4 separate regions of the Homo sapiens genome follow, and all the other regions are linked to region 4. Evidence: promoter capture Hi-C in 16 types of primary human blood cells and fetal thymus (Javierre and others, 2016). All regions are on one chromosome and are shown on one strand. The core of a region is centred on a gene start or on the middle of the fragment in contact, and the rest is flanking DNA. Distances in the headings are between cores, read along the strand shown. Region 1 has its middle 24 kb from the start of GBP6. Region 2 overlaps GBP1 (guanylate binding protein 1). Region 3 has its middle 3.9 kb from the start of GBP6. Region 4 holds the start of GBP4 (guanylate binding protein 4).

The links. The method cuts DNA at HindIII sites, captures the fragments that hold promoters and counts their contacts. A CHiCAGO score of 5 or more calls a contact.
Region 1: a fragment that was not itself captured here is called in contact with the fragment with the promoter of GBP4 in region 4 in 6 of 17 cell types (activated CD4 T cells, non-activated CD4 T cells, naive CD8 T cells and 3 more); the score reaches 10.8 in activated CD4 T cells.
Region 2: a fragment that was not itself captured here is called in contact with the fragment with the promoter of GBP4 in region 4 in 2 of 17 cell types (activated CD4 T cells and naive B cells); the score reaches 7.4 in activated CD4 T cells.
Region 3: a contact is called between a fragment that was not itself captured here and the fragment with the promoter of GBP4 in region 4, in 12 of 17 cell types (activated CD4 T cells, non-activated CD4 T cells, naive CD4 T cells and 9 more). The highest score is 26.8, in activated CD4 T cells.

Annotation. Positions count from the first base shown.
Region 1 is chr1:89,338,210-89,340,909 of GRCh38, forward strand. No RefSeq gene overlaps it. Among named protein-coding and RNA genes, the nearest start is that of GBP6, 24 kb to the right of the region's middle. The HindIII fragment of the contact is 530 bases long and covers 1,100-1,629 here.
Region 2 is chr1:89,052,827-89,055,526 of GRCh38, forward strand. It overlaps GBP1 (guanylate binding protein 1), which reads right to left. Exons shown (of 11, transcript NM_002053.3): 9 at 2,287-2,389; 10 at 1,856-2,049; 11 at 1-642. The coding sequence ends at 529. The region is part of intron 2 of LOC105378841 (a long non-coding RNA gene); the gene reads left to right. Among named protein-coding and RNA genes, the nearest start is that of GBP1, 11 kb to the right of the region's middle. The HindIII fragment of the contact is 3,413 bases long and covers 1-2,700 here.
Region 3 is chr1:89,358,844-89,361,543 of GRCh38, forward strand. No RefSeq gene overlaps it. Among named protein-coding and RNA genes, the nearest start is that of GBP6, 3.9 kb to the right of the region's middle. The HindIII fragment of the contact is 3,000 bases long and covers 1-2,700 here.
Region 4 is chr1:89,197,594-89,200,293 of GRCh38, forward strand. GBP4 (guanylate binding protein 4) reads right to left here and starts at 1,349. Exons shown (of 11, transcript NM_052941.5): 1 at 1,202-1,349. The coding sequence starts at 1,241. It overlaps LOC107985076 (a long non-coding RNA gene), which reads left to right and starts at 754. Exons shown (of 3, transcript XR_002958332.2): 1 at 754-815; 2 at 910-1,465. RefSeq lists a silencer at 1,153-1,447. The HindIII fragment of the contact is 3,654 bases long and covers 1,183-2,700 here.

The DNA of each region.
Region 1 (2,700 bases), core at 115-2,614, 140 kb after region 4:
ACAAGAAGATTTTCTCTCCAGGCACCTCTGCCAACACTTATGCTTAAGCCGTCTCATTTTTCCTTTTCTCCACCATGTCAGGAAGTCATAGCCCTGCAAATACAGGGAATTTTTCTATGTGAGAGGGTTTTCTTTTTCCTACCTTAACACTCTGCTTACCATAGGGATGAAACAGAGGGGTGATCCCACCAGCGGCTGGCTGCAAATTTGGCAAGGGCCATCTGGGACTTAATCTAAAGGAATCCATGCACTCCCCTGAGACAACTTTTTGTCCCAAATTCAATTCCAAGCTTCAGGTTGAAGTCCTAGGTCTGAGGGATTCAAAAACTAGGTCCGAGGGATTCAAAAGCAGGTAACAATGGAAGATACGTGCACAACTTAGGTGGGCAAAACTAATCCTGCCAATTAAGCCCCTGTTTCATGGATAGAGGTCATGCTAGTATCCATGGCATAAATGAGGTCCAGGAAACTCAAAGGTTATCAACAGCCAGGGGGATAGACAGTGTAGGTAAATGCAAATAACTCCTGCCTTCTAGGCCCCCTGCTTCATGGGTGCAGGTCACACCAGGTCTGTGTCACCAGGACTTGGGGATGAAAAGATGGAAGAGAAAAGGGGACATTCTTCTCTCTCTCCCTCACACACCCTGAGCTTTTGCTGAAAGAGAGAAAGGAATTAAGGAATGCTTATTTTTCTCTCTTTCAGATGGGTAACTAGCTATCATCAGTCTATACTCCTCTGAAGTGTATCCTGAATCATTGGGACTGCTTTGACCCTCAGACTCTGGAGAAAAAATACCTCATGGTCCTTTGCACAAAAGTTTGGCAAAATTTTGATTTGCAGGATGGACTGGCTTGGTCTCAGGAAGGAGCCGTTCATTTCGACACCATCCTGCAGCTGGATTTTTTCTGTAAACATAAGGGCAAATGGTCTGAGGCTTTCTATGTGCAGGCTTTCTTCACCTTACAGTATAATTCGGACCTTTGCCAACATTGCAGGATTGATCCAGCCCTCCTGTTTGTCATCTCAGGAGAGGCTGCCAAGGGACAATCCCAGGGAACTAAAGGAACAAACCCCAGAGGCATGTCTAGCAGGGGAACAAGCTTTCTCTGGCCCTGCTCCTCTGGGTCCACCCCATCGTCCCCCTCCAGTTTCTCTCTCTTGTTTGCCCCCTCCTAGAAATCCTCACTCTAGACAGGCCCCAGTCTCACTCCTGCCCCTACAACAGATGCCTAGTGAATACGGCCTCAGTAAGGTCCAAGTCCCCTTGTCTCTACAGGACTTAAGGCAAATGAAGGGGAATCTTGGCAAATTTTCAGATGACCCTGACAGATACATAAAGGCTTTCCAGAATTTCACCCAAGTATTTGAACTGTCCTGGAAAGACGTTATTACTTTTGAACCAAAGCCTGACAGATACTGAGAAGCAGGGTGCTCTCTGCTTCTCAGAGAGAAGAGAAGCAGCAGAGAGATTTGGGGATAGCATCAGGGAAGGCGGCAAACTTTATTCAACTGAAGAGAAGCAGTACCAGTGGATGACCCTGGATGGGATCCCAATGATGAGATGGGAGACTGGAAGAGGAGGCACTTTCAGGCCTGCATAATGGAGGGCTGATGTAGGGCTAGGACCAAGCTTTTCAATTATACCAAGTTCTGCATGATAGACCAGGAATTTGATAAGAATCCCACTGCCTTCCTAAAAATGCTAAGCACACCTTTCTATCTCCTGATTCGGCCGAAGGACAACTTATCTTGAAGGATAAATTTATTACCCAGGCATTCCCCGATATCAGGAGGAAGTTTCAGAAACAGACCCTGGGACCAGATAGAATTTAGAGAACCTCCTGAAAGTGACCACCTATGTTTTTTTAATAGAGACAGGGAGGCCCAGCAGAGAGAGAGGTAATACAGGAAAGAGACAGAGGCTTTAATGGCCACCACGAAAGCCCTGAAACCCCATAATTCCCAGGGTGCACCTGTTAACTGCTACAGATATAGAAAGCCAGGACATTTCAAGGATTACCCAGGCAGCATGAGGAAGCCACCTCAAGCCTGTCCAGTCTGCATCGGGGGAAACTGGAAGGTGGACTGTCCCCAGGGATGTTGGTCACTGGGTCCAGAACCAATCACCCAAATGGTCCAGCAGCAAGACTGGTGGGACCCTGGGCTCCTCTCCCCACCTCCAGTGGTCCAGACCTCCATTACCATCCAGGGACCCTGGGTGAATTCTAGAAATGGAAAGGAGGAAATTGGACCTCCTTTTGGAACACCAGGGCTGGTCTCTCGCTTCTCCTCTCTAATCTGGGCCCCCTCTTCTCTCTTAACATGACCATGACGGGTGTCTCAGGAAAGCCTTTAACCCGATATTTTTCCCAACCACTTAATTGTAGTTGGAGAGACCTTTTGTTCACCCATGCTTTTCTAATTATGCCTGAAAGCCCAGCTCCTTTGTTGAGAAGAGATATTCTGGCCCATATGGGGACCACCATCCTCATGGCCCCTGGGAAAACTCTTTGTCTCCCCATAGTACAAACCAATATTAACCCAGAAGTTTGGGCAACTTGAGGGAAGATTGGCTAAGCTACAACCACCATACTGGTCCAGGTCCACCTTAAGAATCCCACCTCCTTTCCTAACGAGAAACAATATCCCCTGAAACCAGAGGTTAGGAAAGGACTAGAAGCCACTATCAATAACTTGAA
Region 2 (2,700 bases), core at 161-2,660, 140 kb before region 4:
CTAGATCTCTGTATAAGGTGGTTTGCTTTAGCTTGAAATCATCAGTGAGGATTATACATGGGCAATGTCCAGAAATCACATTATTGCTCATAGACCGTGTAGTCTTGATCTAACGGATAACTGTACATTGTCTTCACTAAGAAGCTAGGGTGGTTGTCCTTGATATTGGGACATTGTAGACTTGGCCAGACCAATGCCCAAATATTTCCCAAGACTTTTACCTAAGACTCTGCTCAGTATCCATTTGTCTACTGCTGGTCATCTGGAAGAATAAACTTCTCCTGAGTGGTACCAGCTTATGAGATTTCCTGAGTTGATACAGAGGTAAATGCATCTTTGTTGCACAATTTACAGTCTTTTTTTTTTTTTAAGAAAAAACATGATTTTGATCATTGTACCACATGCCTTTATAAACTTTTGGTGTTATGATGCAAGATCTAATTATTATCAAATGTAGTGACGCTTGTTCCAAATTCTAAAATTGTTTCAATTATGCCTTGGTTAGGGGTGACAGGAAGGCTCTGGTCTTTAGCTTATGGTACATGCCTTTCGTCGTCTCATTTTCGTCTGGAGATCCTGTATCTCATTTTTCATTATTCTGCTTTCTTTTTGAAATCCCTCTTTTAGTAGTTGCTCCTGTTCCTAAAAAGGGACAAACGAAGGCTGAGTAAAGTGTAGCATCAGGCAAATTGAAACATTCTATCTGGTTTCCACATTAAATGATTTGTTATTTAATTTTCTCTGAGTCACGCAAGACGTAAATGTCATACTTTGGCCTATCATTGACCAAAGCACAGCCATGTTCCTTACCCTATTATGTATATGACATAACACCGAAATAAGCAAAGTATCCTCAAAATCTCATAAGGTGTATGAATCATGGATTAGGAAATTTGGTCTAAGCTGCCACACCTTGGTGTCAGGGGTAGCAGAAGACAGGTAAGAAATCTGAGTGCCAGACTGACCATACTGAGTTTCTGCACATAGCTCACAACTCAAAACAAACTGGGAGCAGGACATTAAAAATAATCAGAATTAGCAGAGTATCACACAGGTGTGAGGGTTAGGAGCCTTTCTGCTCATAAAGGTTTCTTAAATCTAATTTCATAGTAGGTGTCACAGAAACAAATAATCATTGTGGATTCCGCTAAGTGATGAAGACAGCTCTGATATATTTACTAGCTGTGTGAACTTAATTATTTATTCTTTTTGGAACCTTTGTTTCTTCTTCTAAGTAATAAGGATATAGTTCTTGCTACATATGTTATTAAGCAAGAGATACAGATTTTTTTTTTTGGAGTCTCGCTCTGTTGCCCAGGCTGGAGTGCAGTGGTGCGATCTCAGCTCACTGCAAGCTCTGCCTCCTGGGTTCACTCCATTCTCCTGCCTCAGCTTCCTGAGTAGCTGGGACTACAGGTGCCCGCCACCACATCTAGCTAAATTTTTTGTATTTTTAGTAGTGACGGGATTTCACCGTGTTAGCCAGGATGGCCTCAATCTCCTGACCTCGTGATCCGCCCGCCTTGGCCTCCCAGAGTGCTGGGATTACAGGCGTGAGCCACAATGCCCCACCGAGATACAGATATTTTAATGATGCCTAGCAGATAATAGCTTCCTTGAAATGAAGGATATATTGATAAAGGACTGAATGTTACACAACTGCAAATAAAAAACTTTCAGTGACCAGACTTGGCAGTAGCCAGTCAGGCTGGACAGACAGGAATTGAAAAGTACAAGTAAGCAAGCAGGGTCCTTACCCTGGGCTTCATGTTCTCTCTGCCACACTAAGTTTGCGATCAGGGAGAATGGAGAGAAAACAGAAAAACAGAAACCTCAAGGTGATGCAATTAGATACCTGAAGTTTAAGAGCGAGGGTCCTCTCTTGCTCTTTCAGCAACTGGACCCTGTCGTTCTCCATCTTCTCAGTCAGTTGTTTCAAGTGTTCCTGATAACTCCTCTCCTTCTGTTCCATCATCTGCTCATTCTTTCTTTGCATTTCCTGCAACATTTTTGCTGAAGCCTGTGCAGACTCAGCTTTCACACGTTCCACTGAGGAGGAAAAGGCAGAAGAAAAATTTGTGTGGGGTTATCTTGTTGCCTCATTCTTCCTTATACACTTACCTGTCGTTGTTGCTGACTGCATATGCCCTACTCAGAGATGACCTCGGCAAGTAAGACACACCTTTGTGGATCTTGCTCTAGTTAAAGGGTCCCATGTTTATCCAGTCAAGTTATTTCAATTTTTGGAGCTTTTGAGGCCATCTAATCTCTTAACTCACTCCTCACCTTCAATCTCCTTTTCTTTTTCTGTGAGAGTCTGGTCTGTCTGGAGAATTGCATCAGTCATAGACTCCTTGGATTTCAAGTATGTCTGCAGAATCTCTTCAGCCTTAGGACCCAGAGAACACAGAGTGAGAAGTAGGAAATGGCTGTAAGCAGGTGTTCCTGTTTGTCTTCCTGCCATCCTTTCTCCTCTGGGAATTCTTTCTCTTGGCCCTATTGTCCTTGGTGGTCAAATTCCCTGTCGGAGCGACAGACACATGCTCCTGGCAAGCCGATCAGAACATCCTACTTAGCAGTCATTTTTAGTAGGCTAATATAGATACTGGGAAAAGGAGAGTCTCTGTCCTGTTTAGATTAAGGGCTCTAAGTTTGGAACTGTTAATGCTGTGGTCCCATATGGGCTGAGCCTGCTGGGGA
Region 3 (2,700 bases), core at 173-2,672, 160 kb after region 4:
TCAGGACGGTCCTTGTCTGGTGTCCAGATTGACCTTCATCCTGGGCACGAGAGAGTTCCTGTGGGCCCTTTCTGCTGTTGCTTTATTTTTCCTCCAGGTGTGAGACACCATGCCAGGTCCCCTCTTAAATGTTTTTAACACGGCAAGAATGTCTTTGTGCAGTAGGACAATTCTTTTCTCCCTTTCAACATTGTAAATAGAAATATTTTAAACATACAGTACAGTAAAAAGAATAGAGCGATGAACACCCACATAACTTTGATCAGGATTAAAAATGTGTTAATATTTTGGCAAACTTATTCTGTCTCTGCACACTTTCTATGATGAACCATTTAAAAGTAATTTGAAGACTTTGTCATACTTCATTATTAAATATTTCAGCATGCATCTTCTTAGGATGAGTATATTTTCCTAAATAAACACATTGCTATTGGCATACCTAGGAAAGTTAGTAATAATAATAATTCTCTAATATAACTTAATAATCTGCCCATATTTAAATTTCCCTTTTGTCTTTAAAGATACTTTTGTAGGTACTTGGTTTACACATATTAATAGTTTTGAACCAGGATAAAAACAAGGTTTATACTTTGTATTTGCATATCTATTAGAATTCAATCCAGAAAGCTAGTTTAAAAAATTATTATTCATTTTCAAGTCACATTGATGGTCTCAAAAATGCAGACCAGTTTTTTTTATGTCCCTCAGGATCTGCTTCCCTATTTCCACATGGTGTAGTTTGCCTTGTTTTTCTTTCTCCTCTGTTGGCCATAGACTGGCAACTGGATCTAGAACCTTGCTCAGGTTATGTGATTATAATCACTGATAGTCATGATTCTTTGTGATGTTCCCATTGTCCGGAATTTGTCTGCAGCGAGTGTCTGTAAGCTAGCTTCTGTCCCTTTTTCATGTGATCCTGTTAATCTCTGAGTGCGCTTTTGCTTCTTGTCACAGGAATATGTCACAGCCACACCTTGTGTTTTCTCCCTATTCCTGGAACCTGAGATTTCTCCAAGGAGCACTGCTTTGTTTTCTTTTTCTTAAAGTGGGTAAAAATTATTTGCAAACAAAAATATAGATGCTGGATTTACTCATTAATATTAGAGTGCTATTTCTTCAAGAATCTTTTAGTGGTCTAAACCAATATCTATATCTATACCCACATAGATATAGATGTAATTTTATTTTTCAACTCAAATTTATAAGGTTTCTTCTTCTTTTATTTTTCTATTTGTATTTTAAACATATAAAAACCAAAATACATGAGGAAAAATTTAGATGTTTTTTCCTGCTGCAGCAAGGAAGAATGCAACCATAGAGAACCATAGGGCATCCAAAAGTGGGGAGGTAGAAAGGATACAGGGGTTTGGGGTTAAAATAGGATGATCTTGGCAGGAACTGGTCAGAATTTATAAACTAAGTGAGTTACTGCCACAGTCAGGAGTTTCACCTTTAGAAATCATGGGTTCCTGATGAGTTGTTAGATCAGTAGACCTGTCTGCTCTTCAAGAAGCTATGTAGCTGAATGAGCTGGTGTTAAAAAAAGTTTGAGCTTGGCCAATTTGTTTTGCATGCTATGATTTGGTGCAGTTTATTTGTTTTGTGAACCGCAGAACAGTTTTGCAAGTTAAGGTTTTTATTTCAATTATCAATTTCCCCTACCTGCAAACAAGAATATTTATTTATCTATTTATTTTATAAACAGTTTCACTGAGGTATAACTGACATATTTTAAATGCATTAATTTATTATATATAATTTAATGAGTTGCATACACTTAAAAAATTGTCACCACAATCAAGGTAATAGATATACCCATCCCCTCCAAGTTTCCTCATGCCTGTTTGTTGTTGCTGTTGCTATTTGCTTATGTTTTGTAACAGCATGTAACATGGATCTAGCCTCTTAGCACATTTTCAAGTGTATAATACAGTATTTTTAACTATAGCTATGCCCTATGGTTCTTATGTTGTACAGTGGATCTCTAGAATTTACTTATCTTTATGACTGAAACCTTATACCCATTGAATATACTCCCCATTTCCCTCCCCCCGAACTCTTGGCAATCAGCATTCTATTCTCTGCTTTTATGAGTCTATTTTAGATTCCACATATAAGTGAGGTCATGCAATTTTTGTCCTCTGTAACTGGCTTTATTTTTTTAGCATAATGTCCTTCAGGTTTATCCATGTTGTTTCAAATGACAGAACACACTTGTTTTTTAAAGTTGAATAATTCTCTCTCTCTCACAGACACACACACACATACACCAAATTTTCTTTATCTATTTATCTGTTGATGGACATTTGTGTTTTCTCATATCTTGGCCATTGTGAATAATGCTACAGTGAACATGGGAGTGCAGATATTTCTTTAAGATTCTGATTTTTATTCTTTTGAATATATTCCTAGTAGTGGTATTGCTGGATCATGTAGTAGGTAATTTTTTGGGAAACCTCCATACTGTTTTGCAGCGTTGCCTCACCATTTCACATTCTCAACAGTGTAAAAGGATTCCGGTTTCTCTATATCCTTATCAATGCTCATCTATTTTTTTGTAATAGCCATCCTAACAGGTAGGAGGTGATATATCACTATTGTTTTGATTTGCATTTCTCTGATTATTAGTAATGTTGAGAACCTTTTCAATATATTTTCAAAATATTGTATTTTATTTCTGAGCTCTCTATTCTGTTTCAT
Region 4 (2,700 bases), core at 99-2,598:
CAAGGTGATGCATAAAATAAACAGAATTAGAAAATCAAGGCACTGATGGCAGAATAATTCCACTCCTGGAATAAATAGGGGCAGGATGTTACAAAAAGGAGATGAGGAGTGGTTAGAAAAGGCTCCAGGCATTCCAGAAGAATTTGCTCTCTCATTAATTTAATAAAGAGTATTGCGTACCTACCATGTGCTAATTAACACCGTTCTAGATTCTCAGCAACAAGCAAGGAACATAATTGATACAAACTTCTGCCTCTTGGAGCTCTATTTGTTGTAACCCAGCGAGTTACAGAGAAACGCCACACTCTGAGACGAATTCAGGAGTCCTTTATTAGCCGGCGACCGAGAGACGGCTAGTGCTCAAAATTCTCTCGGCCCGAAGAAGGGGCTAGATTTTCTTCTATACTTTGGTTTAGAAAGGAGAGGTTGGGGGGAGGGGTCTAGTTAAAACAATCCTACAGAAGTAAAGTAGGCAAAAAGTTAAAAGGATAAATGGTTACAGGAAAGTAAACAGTACTAGGTGCAGGGGCTTTAATTCTATCACAAGGTGATAGAAGCGGGGCTTTGGGCTTTATCAACCAGACACAAACGCGGGGGGCTCTGGGTGCTGTTAACCGGGCGAATTCCTGGGAACTGCGGGTATGGCTTGCCACAGTACCTTATCAGTTAATTGCATTCTTGGATGTGCTGGGAGTCAGCTTGCACAAGTTAAGTCCCTGAGGAAGCGGGTGGGTAAGGGGCTGCAAGTGAAGGAGCCGAGATGCAGACTGTCTGGCTCTTTCAGCTAAGGGAGAGTCAACTCAGGTTAAAACAAGGTAGGGTATCACATATTCTAGTGGGGGACAGAAAATTAATAAAACAAACAAGCAAAAAATGTGTATATGTATACTAGATGATGGTATTTCGCAGGAGAAAATGCCACAGCTCTGGGAGGAAGCCCGAGGAGGAGCAGCGCATCCTGGAGACACCGGTGCGCCTCTGGTCGCCGCCTGTGGACCGTCTAGAGACGCTGGGCCACACGGAGCAAAGCACTCAGGGGTTCAAGCAGCATCAGACTTCCCCGCGAGGTTCCTCCACTGCCTTTGTCACCCGCCAGTGTGAAGTCTCCAACCCTCCCCGTGTGCAGTCTGCGCTTGGGAATTTGTTGTTGTTTGTTATAACCCAAATATACTTGAAAGGTAAAGCTTAAGAGCAAACTTACCTGGTGTGGGCACTGCAGCGTGAAGAGTTCTCTCACCCATTGCTCTGTCCTCCTGCGCCTGGATCCTCGAGAAACGGACTGTTCTTAGAAGCTGAAAGTCCAGCCGGATTTACAGACATCCAAGTAAGAGTCTGTGAGAACCGAAATTGAAAGGACATGCACTTTGTGGGGAGTTGACTGTTGGGGATTTTCCTGTTTATCAAGACAGGAAACTAAAGGAGCTTGAAAGTGCTGGTTCCTCCACACCAGACTCCTGAAACTCAGGTTTGTTTGTCCCTCTTCCACCCTTAGCTTAGGTATCTTTCGCCTCCAAAATGAATATAGAGCAGCAGACATGAATGTTGTTTCATCTACCTGTCTCTCAGGGGTAATTTTGTCAGGGAAGAAATTTGAGTTTTTGTTTGCTTTTATTTTTTTTTACATGCTTATATGTTTCTGTTTCTCATCTCTTTTCTTTATTTTTTCATTAACCATAAAATATGTGTGTGTTTGTGTGTGTGTCTATGGATATCTATGTATCCTCTAACGTTGTTGCCCAGAGGTGCGGTGGTGGCAAGTAAATACTTCTCTTTCAAAACACAAACATCTCATTGAAACTGGATCTTTTGGAGGACAGGAGGATGATTGGACCATAAAAAGCATAATTTATAATTAGGAGTCTTACCCAGGCTACCAGAAAAATGGACTCAGTTCCTAAAATGACTAGCCAGTTTGTTAACAGAGTTTGGGAAATCTATCTGAAATAAATGGGTAATGATTCCCCATTTGTGCCTATCCCTTAGATCTTCCTATTTGTTTAGTAATGTCTGATTAAACATTTGCAAATTAATAAGTACAAAATTTTAGGCACTTAATCAGGTAAAATTACTGGTGCCGATTTTGATTCAAAACTTAACATTTATTTCCTATAAGCAATATTGAAAGTGAAAATAAAGCTAAGTCAAGTTTTAAATAGGACCAGTAATAAGAAATCAGGTGCTTTTTTCTCTTACCATTTTTTAATGTCAGGAAGTCCCTCTCTCTTAAAAAAAAAAAAAAAGAAGAAGAAGAAAAAGTACAGGGATGACTGAATCCAGGTAAATGTGTTTGAAACACCTGAATTTCACCAGTGGCACCCCTTTCCAGATAATCCAATGTTACTGACTTCAGATAATCATGGAAATGTTAATCAAGAAGAAATTTAGGCTGGGTGTGGTGGCTCACTCCTGCAATCCAACCATTTTGGGAGGCCAAGGTGGGCAGATCACTTGAGTCCAGGAATTGGAAACCAGCCTGGGCAATATGGGGAAACCCCATCTCTACAAATAATAATAATAATAAATTAGCTGGGCATAATGGCATGTGCCTGTTATAATAGTCCTAGTTACCTGGGAGTCTGAGGTGGGAGGATGACCTGAGCCCAGGAGGTCAAGGCTGCAATGAGCCATGGTGGTCCCACTGCACTCCAACCTGGGCAACAGAGTGAGATACTGTCTCAAAAAAAATTGTTAATTCACAGT